2 separate regions of the Homo sapiens genome follow, and region 2 is linked to region 1. Evidence: promoter capture Hi-C in 16 types of primary human blood cells and fetal thymus (Javierre and others, 2016). All regions are on one chromosome and are shown on one strand. The core of a region is centred on a gene start or on the middle of the fragment in contact, and the rest is flanking DNA. Distances in the headings are between cores, read along the strand shown. Region 1 holds the start of ZNF628 (zinc finger protein 628). Region 2 overlaps PPP6R1 (protein phosphatase 6 regulatory subunit 1).

What was found. The method cuts DNA at HindIII sites, captures the fragments that hold promoters and counts their contacts. A CHiCAGO score of 5 or more calls a contact.
Region 2: a fragment that was not itself captured here is called in contact with the fragment with the promoter of ZNF628 in region 1 in 1 of 17 cell types (naive CD8 T cells); the score reaches 5.7 in naive CD8 T cells.

Annotation. Positions count from the first base shown.
Region 1 is chr19:55,474,066-55,480,051 of GRCh38, forward strand. ZNF628 (zinc finger protein 628) reads left to right here and starts at 2,552. Exons shown (of 3, transcript NM_033113.3): 1 at 2,552-2,742; 2 at 5,769-5,852. The coding sequence starts at 5,846. RefSeq lists silencers at 2,618-2,817, 2,950-3,273. The HindIII fragment of the contact is 2,239 bases long and covers 717-2,955 here.
Region 2 is chr19:55,232,403-55,238,388 of GRCh38, forward strand. PPP6R1 (protein phosphatase 6 regulatory subunit 1) reads right to left here. Exons shown (of 24, transcript NM_014931.4): 16 at 4,511-4,568; 17 at 4,241-4,419. Among named protein-coding and RNA genes, the nearest start is that of MIR6804, 4.4 kb to the left of the region's middle. The HindIII fragment of the contact is 3,764 bases long and covers 444-4,207 here.

The DNA.
Region 1 (5,986 bases), core at 1,302-3,801:
TCTGCCTCCTGGGTTCAAGCAATTCTCCTGCCTCAGCCTCCTGAGTAGCTGGGACTACAGGCACGCGCCACCATGCCTGGCTGATTTTTGTATTTTTAGTAGAGTTGGGGGGGGGTTTCACCACGCTGGCCAAGCTGGTCTCGAACTCCTGACCTTGTGATCCGCCTGCTTCAGCCTCCCAAAGGCCTGGGATTACAGGCATGAGCCACTGCACCCAGCTGATTCTGTTTACTTGTCAGCATGAGGGACCTGACAACATCCCTTGAAGGGCTACACAGATGTTCCGGGGGGTTAGGAGACAACCCCACCTCCCCATCTGGGTCCCTGAGACTCCTCCTTGGCCTGGAAAGTGCTGGACACAAGGCTGGCCTGAGTTTCCTCCGGTCACTGTCTCCAAGGGGCTGCGAGGCTGTTCTGAAAACAAACCTGTTGAATCCACACCACCTTTTCAGAGACAGCAGGTTGCCCAAGGCCATTGACTTCAAAACCTTTGTTCACCTTCTGGCTGCAAAGTGGGGAATGTTAAGGAGAGTAAGAGCCAGTCTTAGCCATGCCAATCTCTCTTTCTTTTTTTTTGAGAGGGTCTCGCTCTCTTGTCCAGGCTGGAGTGCAGTGGTACAATCTCGGTTCACTGCAGACTTAACCTCCCAGGCTCAAGCGATCCCCTCACCTCAGCTTCCTGAGTAGCTGGGACTACAGGTATGTACACCACAGGAAGCTTATTTTTTGTAGAAATGAGGTCTTGCTGTACTGCCCAGGCTGGGTGTCCCATCCCTTTTGTAATGCCTCTGCGTGGGCAGGTAAATGAGGGGGGCTGAGCTGAGGGCCCCTTTCACTACTGCAGAGACCAAAATGGCCCGAGGCAAGGGGGACGGAAGTGGGATCCGCACCTCTGGGCTTTCCTAGCCTGGCAGCCAGCTGGGCAGTGCATTCCCATCCACGTCTCCACCCTGCATGGCAGCCGCTTTGTGTGGTTAATGCTGACGTGAAAGGAATGTTGGGCTGAGCTGGATGCCAAGGGTTTTTACACGCACGAATGCACGGAGACATCAGCACCAAGACCCTGTAAGGTAGGGGTGGGTCCACACCACCGCAGATCAGCCCTGAGTTCCAGCCTGCTTGTGGACTTGGGAAACGGTGTGGGAGGCTGGAAAAATCCACTCATTCAACAAACAAGTACCGTCTGCTTCTCCATCAGGGCCCATGCTGGTTGTTTGGAATACCTGGGCAGCAAAGACACGAAAGGTCCTCGCTGTCATGGGACATAGATAAATGTCGCTGAGCATGTAAGAGGGACACCACCTAGCACAGGAGGCTTTCCAGTGGGATCTTGCTGGGCAGGGATGGGTTAAGGGTAGAAGGGCCTTCTGGCCTGAGAAACAGCATGCAGAATGGTCTTCAAGCTGAGGGTACTGCCTTTGAGCAGTGGCTCTCAACTAGTGAACATGTGGCAATGTCTGGAGATATTCTTTTTGTTGTTGTTGTTTTTTTTTTTTAACACAGAGTCTCACTCTGTCACCCTGGCTGGAGTGCAGTGGCACGATCTTGGCTCACTGCAACCTCCGACTCCTGGGCTCAAGCGATCCTCTTGCCTCAGCCTCCTGAGTAGCTGGGGTTACAGGTGCCTGCCACCATGCCCGGCTAATTTTTGTATTTTTAGTAGAGACGGGGTTTCACCATGTTGGCCAGGCTGGTCTTGAACTCTTGACCTCAAGTGATCTGCCTGCCTCAGCCTCCCAAAGTGCTGGGATTACAGGTGTGAGCCACCGCGAAAATCTCTATCTGGAGATATTCTGAGCTCTCCTACGGGGTGTGTGGAGCGGGGCTGGGGATGCTACCTGCATCTAGTGAGTGGGGGCCCTAGAGTGTGTAGGACAGTCCCCGCTGCAATGAATCCATCCCAAATGGCACTAGTGCTCTGGTTGAGAAACTGCGTTTAATGACCCTCAGAAAAGCCAGTGTGGCTGGAACGCTGGGTTGGGCGGGGGTTGAGCGTGGAGAGGGGCTTTGGAGCAGCTCGGTCTCCCACTAAAACCCTAGGCCCCACAAGGAGTCTGTGGATTCCAGCCTCCCAGAACAGACCTTTGCCCAGCAGGAACCAGGTTTCTGCAGCGTCTGGATGAGCGTGCACGAAGCACACGCCCGAAAATCCTGAGCACGTGGCTCTACCGAGGGACTGGAAGCGCTCCAGGCCTCGTTTTCCCGCTGGAGCGATTACACCCTGGGGGCGGGGCCCGCTTCACGGGAGGGATTTTTGTACAACCGTGGTGCATGGAAGGATTTTTTTGCAGATGAGAGGGAATCGGGATTAATAAGGGGAACTTGCGACCCCGCGTCTCGAGCTGGCCGTCCCTGGCCTTGGGCTCACCGGGGCCTCGGCCCCCAAGACCTGACAACTGGAGTCCGCGACCACAACTGGGAGAACTACAACTCCCAGGATGCCGCGCACCGCCTGCGCCCGAGCTCGACGAGGCCTCGCACAGCCAATGGGAGGGTCCGGGGGCGGGAACTCGGAGTACGTGCGTTGTGACGCACCGACGGCGACGTCGGGGTTTGTGTGCGCGAGAGGCCGCCGATAAAGGTTGGGTGCCTCGCGCCGGGGGCCGTTGGGAGGGAGTGCGCCCCTGCCCCCCCTCCCCGGTCCCCACAGCTGCACCGCCGCTGCCGGGGCCCCACCTTCCCGTCGACCCCCGCGGGAAGGTCCTGGGGCTGCCACCCTCGTTCCCCCGATTGGGGCCGCAGGTGAGAGACCGGAGGGGGTGGGGGTGGGGGGAGGGACCGGAGGGCGGAGAAGTTGCAGGGGGTGGGGCGGGGGGGGGGGCGTGAAACCGGAAGGGGTACCTTAAAGGGGAGTCACTATTTCACCTCCGACATTTGCCAGCTAGGCCGGGTCCGCCCTCTTAAAGGGCAAGGGGCCACATTGAGAGGGCGGGTCAGGCTTTGCATTTTTACAGAAGCTTTCTGACTTAAAACAATGTTTTTCCCCTAAAAGGCGGTTATCTCATTAAAGGCCAGTGACCGTTTCCCAGACATTGAAGCAAAAACTCCTGAGTCCTGGTTGCTTCAAAGCGATCCCTGGTTTAGCTCAACAAAAGTGGAGATGGGGCTCCAGTGGCAGCATCCCCTTAAAGGGGAGGTCCAGCCTGCTGAACGGGTGTGGCGCGGCCTTTTAAAGGGGATGTCTTCTTGTTAAATGGGACCCCGCTCTTTCAGGGCACGGATATCTCTTTTAAGGAGATGCTGGGGCTTCTCAAAGGCACGTGCAGCTTCTTAGCATCAGTAGGTTTGTTTTTTTTTTTTTTTTTTTTTTCTGGAGACGGAGTCTTGCTCCGTTGCCCAGGCTGGAGTGCAGTGGCGCGATCTAACCTGCTTACATATTAAAGGGTACACTTATCTTTTAAAAAGGAAGTTCTTGGCTAGGCGCGGTGGCTCACGCCTGTAATCCCAGCACTTTGGGAGGCCGAGGCGGGCGGATCACTTGAGGCCAGGAGTTCAAGACCAGCCCAGGCAATATGGTGAAACCCCGTCTCTACTAAAAATACAAAAATTAGCCGGGCGCGGTGGCGTGCACCTGTAATCCCAGCTACTCGGGAGGCTGAGGCAGGAGAATCGCTTGAAGCCGGGAGGCGAAGGTTGCAGTGAGCCGAGATCGCGCCACTGCACTCCAGCCTCGGTGACAGAGTGAGACCCTGTCTCCAAAAAAAAACAAAAAAAACACACAAGTTCTTGTAGCTTGTCCGACGGGGATGCCTAGCCTTCATTCATTTAAAATTTGTTTACTGCGCACACACTCTGCCAGACATTATTGTAGGCACTGGGATGGCATACAACAGTGAACCAGACAGAAGCCCCTATTTTCCCGGCGTTGACATTCTAGCATGGGGAGGCAGAATAAAACAGAAAGCACACTGGTTATATAGTAGCGGTTCTCATCTGGGGGCAACGGTGCTCCCCAGGGGCGACACTGCGGCTAAGACTCGGAGGTGCAGGAGTGAGCTTTGTGGACAGCGTAGAGGAGGGCTTCATAGGCCAATGTCAGGCGTCCAGTGGGTCGAGGCCGGGGGCCAGGGCTGCTGCTCGACACCCTGCAGTGCACAGGACAGCCCTCAACAGAGAATGGTCTGGCCCCACATCTCAGCACTGCTGAGGCTGAGAATCCTGGTACATTAGAAGGTGATAATTGCTGCGGGGGAAAAATAAGGCAGGAAAAGGGAATGGGGAGTTGGAAGGGATTGTAGATTTAAATAGGGCTGTCAGGGAAGCTCTTGCAGAGGGGATTTCAGCGAAGACTCGGAGGTGAAAGAGCGAGTGGCGGGCACAGGTGGAAAGGAAGGGGGTGGTTCTAGGCAGGTGCCCTGAGGTGGGAGCAGGCGTGCCTGGCCATCCTGGGTGACCAGAGTGACCAGGGGCAGGTGGCCAGTGAGGATAGCAGTAGGACAAGTCAGGGAGGGGACAGGCTGCAGGAAGTCGGCAGGCTCGAAGACCAGAACTGTGGCAGATTTCTGAGTACAGGAATGCAATGCCCAGCCCTCCCTGTTGACGGGTTCGCTTCAGTTGCTGTATTGGGAACAGACGGGTGGGCAGGGCACGGGTGGAAACACGGCGATCCGTGGGGAGGCTGTTGCAGCTGCCTGGGAGAGAGACAGTGGTGCCTCAGATCAAGGTGGAGGCCTGTGAGAAGTGGCCAGATCTTGGATATGTTCCGCCTGGAAGGGGAATCTGCGGACAGGGGCAATCGAGAGAGAGGAGGCGAGGAGCCTTTGGCCTGAGGAAGAAGACGGCTGCCATTTTCAGAGATGGAGAAGCTATGGGTGGAGTAGAAGTTGGGGGCGAGGAGCAGAAGACCATAGTTAGATTTTGGGCATGTTAAGTTGGAGGTGTCTAATGAGGCATCCAGGTGGAACAGTCTAGCAGGTGGTGTGGCATTCAGAGGGTAGGTCTTATAGAGCTGGAGGCCTGGAGTCATTGTTCATAGACAGTGGAGTCCTGAGAGTGGGTGGGGGCTCCCAGGGAGAGAGGACAGACAGAGGACAAAGTGGTGCCGGAGCCCCGGGCGCTCCCACATCTAGAGGTCAGGGAGGTGAGAAGGAACCAAGCTGGGGACTGAGATGGGGTGACAGGTGACGGAGGGCAGTGAGGGAGCGAGGTATCCCGGAGGCCAGGGGGAGGCGGGCCACGGACCCAGTGACAAGTGGGCCATTGCGGGCCACGCGCCGCCCAGGCCATGGAGTGGGGGCACCCGCGTGGGACTGAAGGGGTTTGCGCTGGGAAAGAGCGGGCTGACACTTGAGCTGCTCTGCTGTGAAGGAATGGAGAAACGAGTCTGCAGCTGGACAGGGAAGTGGAGTGAAGAGCTTTTTGGTTTTTAAAGATGGGAGACATAGATTGTTGGTTCTGCAGATGGGAACGTCCAGGAGAGGAGGAAAAGTGGAGGATGTGGGTGGGAAGGCACAGTCCACGGGCACTGGGTCAGGCCTGTGGGGAAGGATTGCGCAGGGTTTCTGGACCTCGCACTGCTGACATTGTGGATGGGATTGTTCTCCGCTGTGGGGCCGTCCTGTGAATTGTAGGATGTTGGGCAGCATCCCTGGCCTCCACCCACTAGATGCCAGGAGCACTTGCCTCTCTAGTTAACAGATAACCCCAAATGCCTCCAGGCATTGCGGGATGTCCCCTGGGTTGAAGGCACAGTTTGTCCCAGTTGAGAACCACTAGTATCGTGGTCAGAATGTGAGAAACTTCGCGTCTGATTGCTTTTATTTTCACAGAGGCATGATCAAGGACAGGGTTGCCTGCCAAGAACAGGAGGGGAGAGGAGGGGCTGGAGGTTTCAGGAGAAAGAAGCATGTCAGGTAGTCACCTGGGGAGTGCATGGGCCAGAGACATGTAGTGTGAGCCAGGGAGGGTGATGGTGAGGGGGCCGCAGATTTTGTGGGCTTGAAGGGAAAGTGAGACTGAGGCCAGGCAAGGGGGTGCCTGTCATGGC
Region 2 (5,986 bases), core at 1,076-3,575, 240 kb before region 1:
GAACACAGGCGGGCAGGGACAGAATGCGGCCGTAAGGAGACCGTCCGTCGCCAGTCATCCGTGGAGGGCAGGCCCTGGGGAAGTGGGCTGAGCCTCAGCCATGGCAACCAGAGCAGACAGACCCACTCACCAGCTCTCAAGCCACCTCCCAGCCGTCACCTCACACGGTCACCACAGTGACAGGCCTTCCCACCAGCAGGCCCACCCTCTGGACAGAGGCTTCACACTACTCTCTCCCTCCAACTAGAAACTCCAAGAAGGCAGAGATGGCTGAGTTTTGCCACTGCTGTATCCTCAGCCCTGAGAAACCACCAGGCACCCATAGCTGCTCCAAAAACACTGGCTGAATGTTGACTAACACACACCTGTGAGCATGAAGAAAATCCAAGCAACCTACGTGCTGATCAACCGGGGAAGGGGTAAGCAAAGTAACACTAAAACTAAGCTTTAACAACGAGGGTGCACTCTGAAAAACGCCATCATTAGGCGATTTTGCTATTGTGTGAACATTCTAGAGTGCACTTACACACACCTGGATGGTGGCGCCTCCTGTACACCTAGGCTCTGTGGTATAGCCTATTGTTCCTAGACTACCGACCTATACAGCATGTTACAGTACTGAATACTACAGGCAATTCTAACAATGGTAAATGTTTGTGTATCTAAACATAGGAAAAATACAGCAAAAATAGAGGATTATAATCTCACGGGACCACTGTCATATGTGGTCCATCGCTGACCCAAAGATGCAGTATGGGACTATATACTATGTCTAAAATGCTGACCCAATATTTTTGTCTTAACAGAGTAACTGACTACTTTAACTGGAAAGTAATATATCTGTATATAGTTAAAAGTAAACTAAAATACTCAACGACTAAGGAGTATAAAGGAAGCCCCTCAACCTAACATAAGGCATCTACAAAACCCCACAACTAACAGCATGCTTACATGGCAAAACGCTGAATGCTTCCCCCTAAGATCAGGAACAAAACAAGGATGCCTGTTCTTGCCACTTCTGTTCAACATTGTCCCGGAGGCTAGCCAGGGCAACCAGGCAAGAAAAGGAAATTAAAATCATCCAGATTTGAAAGGAAGGAAAATGAACTCTATTCACATGACATGATTCTGTACATAGAAAATCCTAAGGAGTCCACTAAAACTATCAGAACTCATACATTAGTTCAGCAAGGTTGCAGGATGAAAGATCAACATACAAAAACCTATTGTATTTTCATATACTTGTAACAATCTGAAAACAATTTCAAGAAAATTCCATTTACAATAGTAACAGAAAGAAGAAAACAGGAATAAACTTAAAAGAAATACAAAGCCTCATACTCTAAAACCTACGAAACATTGTTGAAAGAAATTTTAAGACCTATATAAAAAGACATCCATGTTCACGTATTAGAAGACGCAAGGTGGCTTCTTGGTTGAAATTGACAAGCTGATCCTAAAATTCATATGGAATCTCAAGAAATCCCAAATAGGGCAAAACAATCTTTAAAAAGAAGAACAAGGTTGGAAAACTAAAACCTCCCATTTTCTTTTTTCTGTGAGATGGAGTTTCGTTCTTGTCACCCAGACTGGAGTGCAATGAATGGTGCGATCTCAGCTCACTGCAACCTCTGCCTGCCAGGTTCAAGCGATATTCCTGCCTCAGCCTCCTGAGTAGCTGGGATTACAGGCACCCACCACAGCCGGCTAATTTTTGTATTTTTAGTAGAGATGGGGTTTCACCATGTTGGCCAGGCTGGTCTCAAACTCCTGACCTCAGGTGATCCATCCACCTTGGCCTCCCAAAGTGCTGGGATTACAGGTGTGAGCCACCGTGCCCAACAAACCTCCCATTTTCAAAACTTACTATAAAGCAACAGCAACCAGGCCAGTGTGGTACTGGATAAAAACAACACACAGACTGATAGAACAGAACAGAGAGGGAAGAAACAAACTCATACATATGGTCAAATATTTCCTTTTTACACAGGTGCCAAGATGATTCAGTGGAGAAAGGACAGTGTCTTCAACAACTGGTGCAGGGAAAACTGGTTATCTATATGTAAAGGGATGAAGGTGGACCACCTCACATCATATACAAAATTTAGCTCAAAATGAATGGAAAACCATAGAAATAATGCTATAAAACTCTTAGAAGAAAAGAGAGGGCTAAGTCAAGATGCTGGATTTGGCAGTGACACACTTGTGCACCAACAACACGTGCAAGGGTATTCACAGCGGCCGCACTCACAGCGGCTGCACTCACAGCAGCGAGCAACAGGAACCTGCCCAAAGGCCTGTCAACTGCAGAACAAGCAATTCAGCTGCAGCTCATCATGCATGGCACTGCCCCACTGCACGAGAGCCAGGGGCACCCAAACACACAACAGGGAAGGAGCTCACAAGCAGAGTGTTGAGCAACAGAGGTCAGACATAAAAGGAGATGCTGTATGCTATATCAAGTGAAAACAGAGACAAAACTCATCTACAGGGTTAGAAGCCAGGACAACTTTACCCTCAGAAGGGAGGATACTGGCTAACAGAGGGGATGTGGGTACTGGGAAGGTCCTGCTCCTGGGTCTGGGCACTGAGGAAGGATATCCATTGGCCACACACTCAGGATCTGTATGTACACTTGTCTATACGCATGTTACATGTCAATAAAAAGTGAAAACAGCCTAATTCCGAAATCAAAAGTCATGAGTCAAAAACTCAGTTGCAGATGATGACTTAGTGTTCAGGCTGTCAAATCTACATGGCATGAACCCATTTCATCACAGCGACTCTGGGGCCGGCCAGTATTAAGAGAAAAAAAAAAAACAATGTAACATTTGCACTAAAATGTCATCACAGCCTGATTGGAGAGGGACGTCATCATCTCTCATTTTACTGGAATTAGAGAAGAGAGAAGCTGCCTGGGACCATCTTACCCCCCTTTCTAGGAAAACGTGTGAGAGCTAACACGAGGAAGTGAAGTGAAGGGATGAAGGAAGGAGACAGGGAGGCGGGAAGAGAGAGACACACACAGACCAAGCCATACCTCAGGACCTGCCTATTTTTTCAGCCACAGAGATTATCCCTTTCTTTTCATAACTTAACTCATTTGAATTAGATTCCTTTTTTTTTTTTTTTCTGAGACAGAGTCTCGCTCTGTCGCCCAGGCTGGAGTACAGTGGCGCAATCTTGGCTCACTGCAAGCTCCGCCTTCCGGGTTCACGCCATTCTCCTGCCTCAGCCTCCCAAGTCGCTGGGACCACAGGTGCCCGCCACCACGCCCGGCAAATTTTTTGTATTTTTAGTAGAGACGGGGTTTCACCATGTTAGCCAGGATGGTCTTGATCTCCTGACCTCGTGATCCGCCCGCCTCAGCCTCCCAAAGTGCTGGGATTACAGGCGTGAGCCACCGTGCCCGGCTGATTTTTTTTAATTTGTTGATTCTTTTTTTTTTTTTTTTTTTTGAGACCAGGTCTCTGTCACCCAGACTGGAGTGCAGTGGTGCGATCTCAACTCACTGCAACCTCCGCCCCCCAGGGTAAAGCGATCCTTCCACCTCAGCCTCTCAAGTAGCTGGGACTACAGGCACACGTCACCACATCCAGGTAATTTTTGTAGAGACAGGGTTTCGCTATGTTGCCCAGGCTAGGTCTCAAACTCCTGAGCTCAAGCGATCCATCCACCTTGGCCTCCTCCCGAAGTACTGGGATTACAGGCTTGAGCCACTGTGCCCGGCTAATTTGTTGATTTCTTAATGCATCATCTACCTTTTTTTTTGAGACAAGTCTGGCTCTGTTGCCCAGACTGGAGTGCAGTGGTATGATCTCGGCTCACTGCAACCTCTGCCTCCCTGGCTCAAGCCATCCTCCCACCTCAACCTCCCGAGTAGCCAGGACTACAGGTGCACACCACCATGCCCATCTAACTTTTGTATTTTTTGTAGAGACAGGATCTCCCTATGTTGCCCAGGGCTGGTCTCAAACTCCTGAGCTCAAGCAATCCATCTGCCCTGGCCTCCCAAAGTACTGGGATTACAGGCACTCAGGGATTACATGAGCCCACCATGCTTGGCCTTGAATTAGATTTCTATCACTCAAAAGTGAAAGTGCCCCCAACTAATACACACACCAATGCAGGTTCCTTATTTTCTTCATTCACTTCAGCCTCAGTCCAAATGTGTTGGGGGGACCCCTTGGCCCTGCCGTGTGGTGGAAGCTTGGAGAAGGGAAACTGGAGGGGGACTCACCGGACACCAGGTGGCTGGCCCAGACGGGCCCCCCTGGCCAGCTGGCTGCCCTGCCAGGCGCCATCTTCTCCATCAGACTCCCCTGAGCCCTGGGCCTCTTCCTCGTCCTCCTCTTCCTCATCATCATCAAACTGCTGGATGCGGTCCTTGTAGCATATCTCAAGTAGGTTGGCGTTGGGCTGCAGGGCACAGGGGTGGGAGGATGGGCCACACTGCCCACAGCCCCACACCCCTCCACCCGCCACAACCAGGGGACAGGGCAGTACTCACGTTCTCATCGTCAGCATTGAGGGAGAAGGTGATGTTGGCTGTCTTGTCAAAAGGTGCGCTAGGAGAGAAGGCAAGGCATGGTGAGAAGGTCCACCTGGGGGTGGGGGCAGCACAGGACAGGCCACATTTCTTTCTTCACTCAACACAGAGCTGACCCTCATTACTTGCAGATTTGGTATCTGCAAATTCACACACAACCCGAACCACTGGTCCTAAGGGGCAACGCATACATGAATATCAACATCTCACATATGATCACTTTAAATCCTTAAAACCACTCATTGAGGTAGGCTGTTTCCCTTGGCTCTAGAAGTGAGAAAATGGGGCTCGGAAATGTTAAGCGACTCTCCTCAGGCTCTTCCAAGGACAGGTGCCAGAGAGGGATTCAGATCCATGCCCTTGTCCCCATCCTTGGGGCATCTGTAGGAGGCTGACACTCACACCAGCCAGGCACAAGCAGAATGTGAGACTACAGCCCAATAAAGCACATCCCCTAACCTCAAGATGTCTACGGTCCGCGGCTGAAATTCTAAATTATGGGAAAAAGAATCACGTCAAAACTTAAACTGTGCCTGCCAGGGCCCCACCTCCCTCACCACGAGGGTCTAATGATCAGGGTCCACATTCTGTCCCACGTGTTACGGACAGTTCAAGGGATCATTTGTCTCAAATTCATGAAAAATTCTGCCACAAAGATCAATGGATAAAGGACAGTTAATTCTTAAAGGACACTAAGTATGTGACAGACATTACTCACGCACTTCATTCTCACAACCACCTTCCAAGGCAAGTGTCCTTAGTCCCTCCTAGACACTGAGAAGCAGCGGAGCAGAGACCACGCTGGGCACACAGTGGGTCTAGGGCAGGGCAGCCCATGTCCCCGTGGCACTGGCAGCCTCAGCTGACCTGGCTTCTGCTACAGGAGCTATGCGGGGCAGCATCTTCAGCCTTGAGATGATCAAACCAGTCATCCACTTTCCATTCCGGAAATCTTTCTGGGTTTAGTTTTGTTCACTTAACTTCTTAACCCCTCTGGAATTTTCTTGGTAGAGGAAAAGCTAACAGTTTCATCCCGAAAGGGGCAGCTGGTGACCCCAATGCCATCTACCAGTCAGTCCCTTCATTCTCCTGCCAGGGTGGGGTTTTCTTCTTTTTTTTTTTAATTAAAAAAGCAGAGATGGTCTCACAATGTTGCCCAGGCTGGGCTGAAATTCCTGAACTCAAGCGATCCTCCTGCCTCGGCCTCCCTAAGTGCTGGGATTAAGATGTGAGCCACTGTGTCCAGCCCAGTTTTCACTTGAGCATCTTCTCCAGGGGTCTCGGCACAGGCCACTGACCCACAAAGACCAACGCTCTGCAAGTCTCCATGCTGGGCACAGAAGCAGCCAACACAGGATATCACGTCTGCATCTGAGAGGACCTCTGTCCAGCTGTGGACTAAGCCAGGAACAGCTGACTATCCCTCATCGTGGTGTC